2 separate regions of the Homo sapiens genome follow, and region 1 is linked to region 2. Evidence: promoter capture Hi-C in human tissues and cell types (Jung and others, 2019). All regions are on one chromosome and are shown on one strand. The core of a region is centred on a gene start or on the middle of the fragment in contact, and the rest is flanking DNA. Distances in the headings are between cores, read along the strand shown.

Region 1 (6,745 bases), core at 3,397-5,896, 150 kb before region 2:
CTATATTCTTGAAAGCCTAGAACAATTTTTGGTACACAATAGGCCTCCAGTTATGATTTGTTCAATGCATACATGAATGACATCAGCAAAAAAAAAGGACTGCCCAAAAAGAGAAATGGGCATCAGATGTGAACAGGCAACAGACAAAACAAGCATATGAAAAGATGCTCAGTCTTATTAATAAGCTGGAAAATAGAAATTAAAACAAGACTTCCTTTTCTTTTTTCTTTTCTTTCTTTCTTTCTTTTTTTTTTTTTTTTGAGATGGAGTTTCGCTCTTTTTGCCCAGGCTGGAGTGCAATGGCATGATCTCGGCTCACTGCAACCTCTGCCTCCTCAGTTCAAGTGATTCTCCTGCCTCCGCCTCCCGAGTAGCTGGGATCACAGGCACACATCACCACGCCCGGTTAATTTTGATTTTTTTTTTTTTTTTTTTTGAGGCAGAGTCTCGCTCTTTCGCCCAGGCTGGAGTGCAATGGTGCTATCTTGGCTCACTGCAAGCTCCAAGCTCTGCCTCCTGGGTTCACGGCATTCTCCTGCCTCAGCCTCCCAAGTAGCTGGGACTACAGGTGCCCACCACCACGCCTGACTAATTTTTTTTGTATTTTTAGTAGAGATGGGGTTTCACCATGTTAGCCAGGATGGTCTCGATCTCCTGACCTTGTGATCTGCCTGCCTTGGCCTTCCAAAGTGCTGGGATTACAGGCGTGAGCCACCACGCCTGGCCAATTCTGAATTTTTAATAGAGATGGGGTTTCACCATGTTGGCCAGGCTAGTCTTGAACTCTTGACTACAGGTGATCCACCCACCTCGGCCTCCCAAAGTGCTGGGATTACAGGAGTGAGCCACTGCGCCTGGCCAAGGCATTCTTTTCTACACATTAGGTTGGCAAAAATGTAAAAGACTTATAGTATCTAATGCTGGCAAAGATGTTGGGAGATGGGCACACTCAGCCACTGTCAGTGGTGGCATAAATTGGTAGAGCCTTTTTAGAAGGCAATTTGGCAGGTCTTTGCATCAAAATGCAAAATATGCATCTGCTTGACCCAGCACTTGCATTTCTAGTAATATAACTAAAGAAATACTGTCATAGGCCAAGTGCAGTGGCTCACGCCTGTAATCCCAGCACTTTGGGAGGCCAAGGCAGGCAGATCACAAGGTCAGGAGTTTGAGACCAGCCTGGCCAACATGGTGAAACCCTGTCTCTACTAAAAATACAAAAATTAGCTAGGCGTGGTGATGCACGCCTGTAATCCCAGCTACTTGGGAGGCTGAGGCAGGAGAATTGCTTGAACTTGGGAGGTGGAGGTTGCAGTGAGCCGAGATCACGTCGCTGCAATTCAGCCTGGGTGACACAGCAAGACTCCATCCTGAAAAAAAAATTTTTAAATAATAATAATAAAAATTTTTTTAAGAAAAAAAAGAAATACTGGCACAGATGCACAAAGTTGTAGTATCACAGCAGAGTTTATAATGGGAAAAAACTGGAAGCAACCTCAATGCCCATCAAGAGAGAAATGGTTAAGTCAGGTGCAGCAGCTCATGCCTGTAATCCCAGCTACTTAGGAGGTTGAGGTGGGAGAAATGCTTGAGCCCAGGAGTTTGAGACCAGCCTGGGCAACACAGCTAGACCCCCTCTCTTAAAAAAAAATAAAAAATAAAAAAGAGTAAAATGGTTAAACAAATCCAGACCAGTATGGAAAAATAGCCAAGTGTTACTGTTAAGAAGAAAAAGCATGCTGGGTGCGGTGGCTCACGCCTGTAATCCTAGCACTCTGGGAGGCCAAGGCGCGTGGATCACCTGAAGTCAGGAGTTTGAGACCTGCCTGGCCAACATGGTGAAACCCCATCTCTACTAAAAACACAAAAAATTAGCCAGGCGTGATGGCAGACACCTGTAATCCCAGCTACTCGGGAGCCTGAGGCAGGAGAATCACTTGAACCCGGGAGGCAGAGGTTGCAGTGAGCCGAGATCATGCCACTGCACTCCAGCCCGGGCAACAAAAGCAAAACTCCATCTCAAAAAAAAAAAAAAAAAAAAAAAAGCCGGGCACAATGGCTCATGCCTGTAATCCCAGCACTTTGGAAGGCTGAGGCGGGCGGATCACGAGGTCAAGAGATAGACACCATGCTGGCCAACATGGTGAAACCCAGTCTCTACTAAAAATACAAAAAATTAGCCGGGCATTGTGGCAGGCGCCTGTTATCCCAGCTACTTGGGAGGCTGAGGCAGGAGAATTGCTTGAACCCGGGAGGCGGAGGTTGCAGTGAGCTGAGATCGCGCCATTGCGCTCCGGCTTTGGCAAAAAGAGCGAAACTCAGTCTCAACAACAAACAAACAAAAAAAAAAAAAAAAAAGAGGAAGAAGAAGAAGCAATTTAGAACCTACCTATGAATATAAATTTATAGTGGATTGCACATGCATAAAAATTCCCTGGAGTAAACAAGAAGTTCATAACAGATGGTACTTACTGGGGGAGGGGATGAGAACTTAATGAATGGGGAACAGGGATGAAGGCGATAATTTTCCCATGGGATTTCCCTAGAGGTTTTGATGTCTTCACCATGAAAATTTATTTATTCAAAAATTGAAATTAAACATGAAAAGCAAATAATATAAAAACATTAAACATCCATATAGGTACACTTGTAAATGCACAGAAAGAGGTCTAGATGGATGCACACCAAATAACTGAGGCTCTCTTTGGGATGTGGGATTGGGAGGCAGATAGGAGTGAGACTTTATGTTTTACTGAAGACTGCTCGGTTAGTAAAATTTTTTCCCAAAAGAATATATTCATATATTACCCTTGTAATTCTAAACAGATGGAGGAAAGCTAGAGAAGAAAACAAAATAACAATTAAAAAATTAAGTGGTAGCAGATTACCACAAATGACTGCAAAACAAAACCCCAAACTCAAGAACCAAGCCAAGACTTCTTGATTCAAAGTTCTGTAGTGCAGAGTTGTTGGTTTTGCCTGCCCAAAATCCATCCTCTCCTTCCAAATACATCAAAACTCACTCTCAGGTCCTGAGCTTCCTGAAGGGCAAATGAAACCTAGAGAGTCATGGGTAATCACATGACCCAAGTGGGGCCAAGCAGAACACTGAAAACACCCTGGTCATAAAGATTGGGTCAGATATGAGCACGTAACCTTAGATGGGCCAATGAAAACTCTTCCCACTTTTTCTTTTTTGGTAGAGGTGGGGTCTCGCTGTGTTGGCCAGGCGGGTCTCCAACTCCTGGCCTCAAGCAATCCTCCCATCTTGGCCTCCTAAAGTGTGGGATTACAGGTGTGAGCCACTGTGCCCGGCCACTCTCCCCATTTTCGCCAGGAAAATGTGTGTGCACAGAAGAGATGCTCTCTTTCCCATGGGCTTCCTAAGTTGGGAGGAGGTAGGCCGGGCATCCTGGGGTCATCCTGCCAACATCAGGGACTCCCTGACCATGAGGCCAACACAGAAGAAAGCGGTGCTCAGAAATGAAGACAAGGAGATTTGTGAAGACGTAATTTGAGTTACTGATCACTCCACCCCTCAGACCCCGAGCCAGCACCTTCATAAATTGAAGACATAATTTGTGAATTATGAAGACATAATTAGCTGAGATCGCGCCACTGCACTCCAGCCTGGGCAACAGAGTGAGACTCTGTCTCAAAAAACAAAAAAACAAAAACAAAAAAAAAAGGAAAGAAAGAAAGGATGGGGTCCCTTGCCTTGAGTCCCAATAAGGCAAGGACTGGGACTGTATAGTCCCTGAATGTGCACTCCTCTCCTAGGCCATGCTGAGCTGGATACAAAAACATGGGACAGAGAAGCAGAACAGGGGGGAGGAGGGTGTTTCCTTGGCCAGAGAAAGAGCTTTGCTTAGGGTGGGGGTGGGCCTGGAAAAAGTGTGGGGTCCCCAGGGACAGAGCCTGGCAGCTGCAAAGCCTCTAGTGCATTTTCTCATCTGGCAGGAGACCAGTCCCCCATCTCTCCAAGCAGGAGCCTGTGGCTGAGGCCGACCAGCTGGCCAGGTCCCTGAGGGCTGGGGAGCCAGGACTTGAGACTCCACCATCTGGCTTCTTGGCCAGGAAGCACAGCTTGGCAACAGGCCCCGAGAGAGGATTCTGGGTCACGTGGCCAGGACCTGGGAGGTGGGGTCCCAGAGAGCCTGCTGCAGCAGCGGGTGTGGTACGGGATGAGGGAGAGGACACAAGGAGGACATGAGGAACACGGGAAGGAGGCAGAGACAGAGAAGTCAAATAAAAAGAGACAGAGAGACTGGGGTGGTGGCTCATGCCTGTAATCCCAGAACTTTGGGAGGCCAAGGTAGGCAGATCACCTGAGGTCAGGAGTTCAAGACCAACCTGGCCAACATGGTGAAACCCCATCTCTACTAAAAATACAAAAATTAGCCGGGCGTGGTGGCTCACGCCTGTAATCACAACTACTTGGGAGGCTGAGGCAGGAGAATCGCTGGAATCCGGGAGGCGGAGGTTGCAGCGAGCTGAGACTGTGCCATTGCACTCCAGCCTGGGTGACAGAGTGAGATTCCGTCTCAAAAAGAAAAAATAAAAATAAAAAAATACAAAAATTAGCCAGGCATGGTGGCGGGTGCCTGTAATCCCAGCTACTGGGGAGGCTGGGGAATCGCTTGAACCTGGGAGGCGGAGATTGCAGTGAGCCAAGATCGCGCCACTGCACTCCAGCCTGGGTGACAGAGTAAGATTCTGTCTCAAAATAAATAAAGAGACAGAGAGAAGGGAGTGAGAGAGTAGGACAGAGAGGGACACAAAGGGAAGAGAGAGACACAGAGATGGCGACGGGAGGACAGGAGAGAGGCTGAGGGGGACAGATCGCTCACACACTGCACACCACTACACCCCTCAGACCCCGAGCCAGTACCTCCCTCAGCCCAGCCTGGCCCCAGTGCCCTAAGGGTGGATGGGACAGCCAGGAAACGTGCCAGGCTGGATGGCAGCCAACCCCTCTCCTGTGTATGCCCCAGGGGACAGCAGGGCCTTGGCAGGTCCCTTCCCCAGTAGCAGCTCCTGAGGGGCAGCTGGGCTCCGTCTGGGTGCCCTGGCCCACACAGTCACTTCCTGCCTCGGGCTCCCTCTGCTGGGAAAAGGGCCCAGGAGTCTCGTGCTGGAGCCTGCCTCTGGCACCCATCACTGTGTGACCCCAGGGCCACTCCCTTGTCTCCTCTGGGCTTCAGCCCCTCCCTTGAACAATGGGGACCCCCATCTCATGGTTTGCTGGGCTTGGTTGAGACTGAACCCCCTACAGGGAGGGAAGAGCTAACTCTGTACTCTGGCTAAAGCAGGAGGCCCCAACTCCTTCCTCTAAAACCTAAATAGTACAAAAGAAGGTCAAAGATGGTCAAGCTCGCCAGTAGCATTGGAAAAAAATACAAATACACACACTGCAGTGAGATACCACTTCCCAGCCATCGGACTGAGAAAGATCTAAAATGTCTGACAAAACCAAGTGTTGGCAAGGACGAGAGGAAACAGGAGCTCATGTGTACTGCTGGGGAGAGAGTGAGCAGCCACAGAAGGACCTGGGCAGGCAATTTGGCAAAAGCAAGTGAGCTAAAGATGGTTCTAACTTTTAACACTATATAAATATTTCATTTACCACCTCCAAATTACTTTTCTTTTTTTTTTTTTTTTTTTTTTTTTTGAGATGGGGGTCTCACTCTGTCGACCAGATTGGAGTGCAGTGACACGATCACAGCTCACTGCAGCTTCAACCTCCTGGGCTCAAGTGATCCTCCCACTTCAGCCTTCTGAGTAGCTGGGAACACAGGCATGTGAATCTCGCTATGTTGCCCAGGCTGGTCTGGAACACCTGGGCTCAAGCGATCCTCCTGCCTTGGCCTCACAAAGTGCTGGGATTACAGGCATGAGCCACTGTGCCCAATCATCCATGTTGCTTTTTTAAAATGTGTTTTGGGGCCAGGTGCAGTGGCTCACGCGAATAATCCCAGCACTTTGAGGGGCTAAGGCAGGAGGACTGTTTGAGCCCAGGAGTTTGTGACCAGCCTGGGTAACATAGTGAGACCCCATCTATCAAAAAATAAAAATAAATTAAAATTAAAAAGCAGCATGGAGAGGGGTAAATGCCCCAAATGGAATATGAACAAAAACAAATGAAGTAACCGTGTATCACATAAGTAACAACCAAAGGGAAGGTGAAACAACTAGCTTTTGAAAACAGTAGAGTGATGGTGATATGCTCTCAGTTTTATGACAGTTAAAATTAAAGACTGGCCAGGCACGGTGGTTCATGCCTATTATCCCAGCACTTTGGGAGGCCGAGGCGGGCGGATCACTTGAGGTCAGGAGTTTGGGACCAGCCTGGACAACATGGCGAAACCCCATCTCTACTAAAAATACAAAAATTAGCCGGGTATGGTGGCGGGTGCCTATAGTCCCAGCTACTCGGGAGGCTGAGGCAGGAGAATCACTTGAACCCAGGAGGCAGAGGGTTGCAGTGAGCCGAGATTGTGCCACTGCGCTCCAGCCTGGGTGACAAGAACAAAACTTGGTCTAAAAAAAAAAAAATTAAAGACCTGTGAATAAATACTGAATCTTAGATTTGTTGGGTCAGCAGTTCTGAAACCACTTAATGCATTATGTCTTTTCACCTTCACAATGTCCTTATGAGGTCAGAAATATCATTATGCCCATTTTACTGAAGAAGAAAATGAGGCACAGCCAGGCGCGGTGGCTCATGCCTGTAATCCCAGCACTT
Region 2 (6,064 bases), core at 131-2,630:
GCGTTCAAGCAGTTCTCATACCTCAGCCTGCCGACCTCAGCCTCTTGAGTAGCTGGGACTACAGGCATGTGCTAACACACCCGGCTAATTTTGTATTTTTAGTAGAGACGGGGTTTCTCCATGTTGGTCAGGCTGGTCTCGAACTCCCGACCTCAGGTGATCCACCTGCCTCAGCCTCCCAAAGTGCTGGGATTACAGGCATGAGCCACCGAGCCCGGCCCGCTGTTAAATATTCTAATCTGGCTGGAGTGGTGGCTCATGTCTACAATCCCAGCACTTTGGAAGGTTGAGGCAGGAGGATCACTTGAGGCCAGGAGGATCACTTGAGACCAGCCTGGACAACATAGTGAGACCCCATTTCTACAAAAAATTAAAAAGATAAATAAAAATGAACACTTTTTTTTTTTTTTTGAGATGGAGTCTCGCTCTGTCACCCAGGCTGGAGTGCAGTGGTGCAATCTCGGCTCACTGCAACCTCCACCTCCCGGGTTCAAGCTATTCTTCTGCCTTAGCCTCCCGAGTAGCTGGGACTACAGGCGCCCTCCACTATGCCTGGCTAATTTTTAGTATTTTTAGTAGAGACAGAGTTTCACCGTGTTAGCCAGGATGGTCTCGATCTCCTGACCTTATGATCTGCCTTCCTTGGCCTCCCAAAGTGCTGGGATTACAGGCGTGACCCACCGCACCCAGCCAAAAATAAATACATTTTCTAATTTGGCCTCAACATCTCCCCCAAGCTGCTTCTTATCCATGTCCATTTCTCGGGGACTGCCCCTTCATCCCAGAGCCCTAGGCCCGTTCTTAGACAGCTCCCGCCTTTCCCTCAAACCGTCGGTCTCACGGCTGCTTCTCCTGGCCTTTTGAGTGTCTCATCCATTGGCCTCGCCCTCTCCTCCCCAACCTCTCCCATCTGTGCCCTGTCCTGGACTCTTTCCCTGGCTTGGGGCTTCCACTCTTACCCGCTCCAACCTATCCCTTTTCATACAGTAACTTTCTGACACTCATATCTGACCCTGCCCTCCCCTGCTCAAAGCCCTTCTGTGGCTCCCCAGTGCCCTCAGAACAGAATCCAAACTCCTTAGCCTGGCATTCAGGGCCTTTTACAACCTCACCCCACAGTAGCCACAGACTGGGACAGGAGTTTTCTGAACACAGACACACACACATCACATCTCCCAAGCTCAAGAAGCCCACCTTTCCTCACTCCTGCCTTATCCCCATTCCTGTATGCCCAAGGCCCACGATTAGACCCCCCTCTGTCAACACTTCACCTGTTTGGTCTTTGCAAGATTCCGCCACTGGGCGGGGGAGGGGGCCCAGCCTGGTACCCCACCCCCACTCCAGCCAGGGCTCAGGTCTCCAACAACAGAACCAGAGCCACTCAACAGCGCTGGAACCCATTCGGTGGGGCCTGGGGCCCCTCATCCCAAGCCAGGAGGGTTTCTGGGGAGGGGTGCAGCCCCTGGCAGACTGACAGTGTGGCCTGGGGGTTTGGGGGTGCCAGGGAAGCAGGGGCCAACCTCATAGGAGGAGACACGAGTGCGGTTCTCTTTCCCCCACTGGGGGGCCTGCTGTGTCAGCAGCCAGGCGGGAGGCCTGGGCGGCAGAGCCAGTGGTACAGGGGCCTGGGCAGGGCGGTGTCTGGCAGCAGCGGCACCATGTCCACCATCCAGTCGGAGACTGACTGCTACGACATCATCGAGGTCTTGGGCAAGGGGACCTTCGGGGAGGTAGCCAAGGGCTGGCGGCGGAGCACGGGCGAGATGGTGGCCATCAAGATCCTCAAGAATGACGCCTACCGCAACCGCATCATCAAGAACGAGCTGAAGCTGCTGCACTGCATGCGAGGCCTAGACCCTGAAGAGGCCCACGTCATCCGCTTCCTTGAGTTCTTCCATGACGCCCTCAAGTTCTACCTGGTCTTTGAGCTGCTGGAGCAAAACCTTTTCGAGTTCCAGAAGGAGAACAACTTCGCGCCCCTCCCCGCCCGCCACATCCGTACAGTCACCCTGCAGGTGCTCACAGCCCTGGCCCGGCTCAAGGAGCTGGCTATCATCCACGCTGATCTCAAGCCTGAGAACATCATGCTGGTGGACCAGACCCGCTGCCCCTTCAGGGTCAAGGTGAGTAGGGGTCGTCTAGGGTGGCTGCGTCCCTAGTTCCTTGTCTTTTTCCCAGCTTCTTCCAGCCCTAGATTTTTTTTTTAATTTTTTAAAATTATTATTATTATTATTTTTGAGACGGAGTTTCATTCTGTTACCCAGGCTTGAGTGCAGTGGCACAATCTCAGCTCACTGCAACTCCGCCTCCTGGGTTCAAGTGATTATCCTGCCTCAGCCTCCCGAGTTGCTGGGATTACAGGGATGCGCCACCACGCCCAGCTAATTTTTTTTTTGTACTTATCAGAGACGGGGTGATGATGGCATGATCTTGGTTCACTGCCTCCGCCTCCCGGGTTCAAGCGATTCTCCTGCCTCAGCCTCCTGAGTAGCTGGGAATACAGGTGCCCGCCACCCATGCCCGGCTAATTTTTGTATTTTTAGTAGAGATGGAGTTTCGCCATGTTGGCCAGGCTGGTCTCAAACTCCTGACCTTGTGATCCACCTGCCTCAGCCTCCCAAAGTGCTGGGATTACAGGCGTGAGCCACCACGCCCAGCCAATTTTTGTGTTTTTTGGTAGAAACAGGATTTCATCATGTTGCCCAGGCTGGTCTCAAAGTCCTGAGTTCAAGCAATCTGCCCACCTTGGCCTCAACAAAGTGCTGGAATTACAAGTGTGAGCCACCATGCCCAGTCCTCTGTCTGCTTTTGAGTTTGATACTGTCTGGATGCTTCTGAACCAGGGGCACCCTGAGGGCAAGGCTGGGGCTGACTTAATCATCGCTGTGTCCCTGACATCTCCCAGCACTGCAGTCATGGAGCCAGTGCTAAATGAATGCTTGCCAGAGACACAGAGACAGAAAAAGGTGGATTATTCTGCCCCAAGAGGTGGAAGGACAGAGACCCAGGGAAGCAGGGACTTCCACAAACACAGCAGGGGACAGACAGGACGGATCCACAGCACCTGGCCGGCATTATCACCCCCACTGTCTCTGTGGAAGGAATGAATTCATTCCACAAACATAGACTAAGTGCCCAGGGTCACTCAGCCTCTTGGGTACTGAAGCCCTGGCACTCTGGGATCAGAATAGCAATTAATAACCATTTCATGATACTGCTTTCTGCAAGTGAAAGGTGAGGGATGGCCAGGTGCGGTGGCTCACGCCTGTAATCCCAGCACTTTGGGAGGCCGAGGCGGGTGGATCACCTGAGGTCAGGAGTTCAAGACCAGCCTGACCAATATGGTGAAACCTCGTCTCTGCTAAAAGTATAAAAATTAGCCGGGTGTGGTGGCGGGCACCTGTAATCCTAGCTACTCCAGAGGCTGAAGCAGATAAATCGCTTAGAACCCGGGAGGCAGAGGTTGCAGTGAGCTGAGATTACGCCACTGCACTCCAGCCTGGGCGACAGAGGAAGTCCCTCTGTCTCAGAAAAAAAAAAAAAAAAACTAAACTAAAATTAGCTAGGCGTGGTGGCACATACCTGGAATCCCAGTTAGTTGGGGGGCAGAGGCAGGAGACTCACTTGAACTTGGGAGGCAGAGGTTTTGCAGTGAGCTGAGATCACGCCACTGCACTCCAGCCTGGGCGACAGAGCTCGACTCTGTCTCAACACAAAACAAAAACAAAAAACTGAGAAATGGCTGAATGAAAAGCAGAAAAACTCAGAGAAGGAAACAGGCTGGCCAGGTGTGGTGGCCCAAGCCTGTAATCCCAGCACTTTGGGAGGCTGAGGCAGGTGGATCACCTGAGGTCAGAAGCTCAAGACCAGCCTGGCCAACATGGTGAAATCCTGTCTCTATTAAAAATACAAAACTTAGCCAGATGTGGTGGGGTGCACCTGTAATCCCAGCTACTTGGGAGGCTGATGCAGGAGAATCGCTTGAACCCATATGGGGGCGGAGGTTGCAGTGAGCCGAGATCATGCCGCTGCACTCCAGCTTGGACAAAAGAGTGAAGCCACCTGAAAAAGAAAAAGAAAAAGAAACAGGCCAAGAGAGAGTCACGGAGATTCAGGGTGAAAATGGCAGACAGCTCCACCAGAGGCATGGGGAGAGACAAAGGCTTTCGGCCATTCGCAATGTTGGTTCCGCAGCTGTTGGCCAAGCACCTGTCATGTGTCAAAGGCCTGTGACGAGTGTGAACAGTGCCTGAAGAGGAAGACAGAAGAGGACCGGGACTTCAGGGAGGTGTCTTCCTAGTGGACGACACAGAGACAGAGATGGAAAGAGAGAGAGAGACACTGAGAGACAAGAGACAGGCAAGTGATGGAGAGGCAGTTGCAAAGAAAGAACGAGAGGTACAAATGGCCAGGCACAGTGGCTCATGCCTAGAATCTCAGGACTTTGGGAGGCCGAGGTGGGAGGATTACTAGAGCCCAGGAGTTCAAGACCAGCCTGGGTAACATGGTGAAAACCCATCTCTACTAAAAATACAAAAATTAGCTGGGCATGGTGGCATGTGACTGTAGTCCCAGCTACTTGGGAGGCTGAGGCAGGAGAATCGCTTGAACGTGGAAGGTGGAGGTTGCCTTGAGCCGAGATTGCGCCACTGCATTCCAGCCTGGGTGACAGGGTGAGCCACTGTCTCAAATGAGAGACAGAGAGAGAGAGATACAAGCAAGAGATGGAAAGAGAATGAAGGAACTCAAAGCCCATACATACATTCATTCATTCACTCATTATTTACTGAGCCCCTGCTGTGTGCCAAGCCCTGTTCTAGGCATCTAGGGATACAGTATTGAACAAAATGGATAAATTCTTTGCCCTCGTGGGACTGACATCCTCGCTGGGGAGAGAAATGCTGAGAGAGGCCAGGTGCAGGGCCTCATGCCTATAATCCCAGCATGTTGGGAGGCTGAGGCAGGAGGATCACTTGAGCCCAGGAGCCATCCTGGGCAACATAGTGAGACCCATCTCTATCTCTACAAAAAGTTAAAAAATTAGCTGGGTATGGAGGTGCATGCCTGTGGTCCCAGCTACTCAGGAGGCTGAGGCGGGAGGATCTTGTGAGCCCTGGAGTTCGCGGCTACAGTGAGCTACGATGGTGCCACTGTACTCCAGCCTGGGTGATAGAGCAAGACCCTGTCTCTAAAAAGGAAAAAAGGGCTGGGCGCCGTGGCTCACGCCTGTAATCCCAACACTTTGGGAGGCTGAGGCGGGCAGATCATCTGAGTCAGGAGTTTGAGACCAGCCTGGCTAACATGGTGAAACCCCGCCTGTCTCTACCAAAAATGCAAAAGATTAGCGCTTGTAATCCCAGCTACTCAGGAGGCTGAGGCAGGAGAATCACTTGAATCCAGTAGGTGGAGGTTGCAGTGAGCCAAGATCACACCACTGCTCTCCAGCCTGGCCAACAGAGCGAGACTCCGTCACAAAAAAATAAATAATTAAAAAATAAAATTAAAATAAAAAATTAAGAGATATAGTGTGTGAAATGGCATTAAGAGCAATGGTGGACCTGGGTGCGGTGGCTCACGCCTGTCCTAGCACTTTGGGAGGCCGAGGCGAGTGGATCACCTGCGGTCAGGAGTTCGAGACCAGCCTGGCCATCATCGTGAAACCCCGTCTCTACTAAAAATATAAAAATTAGCTGCGCATGGTGGTGTGCACCTGTAATCCCAGCTACTTGGGAGGCTGAAGCAGGAGAATCACTGGAACCTGGGAGGAGGAGGTTGCAGTGAGCCAAGATTGCACCATTGCACTCCAGCCTGGGTGACAAGAGCAAAACTCTGTCTCAAAAACCTCCGACTCAAAAAAAAAAAAAAAAAAAAAAAAAAGAAAAGAAAAGAAAAAGAAAAACAGGGGCCTGGCGGGGGATAGAAAGGATGGGGACTGATGGCTGATGCTTTCACAGAATGATTAGGGAAGGTCTCACTGAGAAGGTGATCATTTTTTTTTGTCCTGCCTTTCACCTTTTGATAGAAAGGTGACATTTGAGTAAAGACCTGAAGGAGGTGAGGCAGG

Evidence for each region. The method cuts DNA at HindIII sites, captures the fragments that hold promoters and counts their contacts. A contact is called where the count stands out against the background at its distance.
Region 1: a fragment that was not itself captured here is called in contact with the fragment with the promoter of HIPK4 in region 2 in 1 of the 25 tissues and cell types used here (spleen).

The regions. Positions count from the first base shown.
Region 1 is chr19:40,539,741-40,546,485 of GRCh38, reverse strand. The region is part of intron 20 of SPTBN4 (spectrin beta, non-erythrocytic 4); the gene reads right to left. Among named protein-coding and RNA genes, the nearest start is that of SHKBP1, 34 kb to the left of the region's middle. The HindIII fragment of the contact is 8,028 bases long and covers 633-6,745 here.
Region 2 is chr19:40,385,497-40,391,560 of GRCh38, reverse strand. It overlaps HIPK4 (homeodomain interacting protein kinase 4), which reads left to right and starts at 1,380. Exons shown (of 4, transcript NM_144685.5): 1 at 1,380-2,123. The coding sequence starts at 1,659. RefSeq lists enhancers at 928-1,477, 1,478-2,027. The HindIII fragment of the contact is 19,093 bases long and covers 1-6,064 here.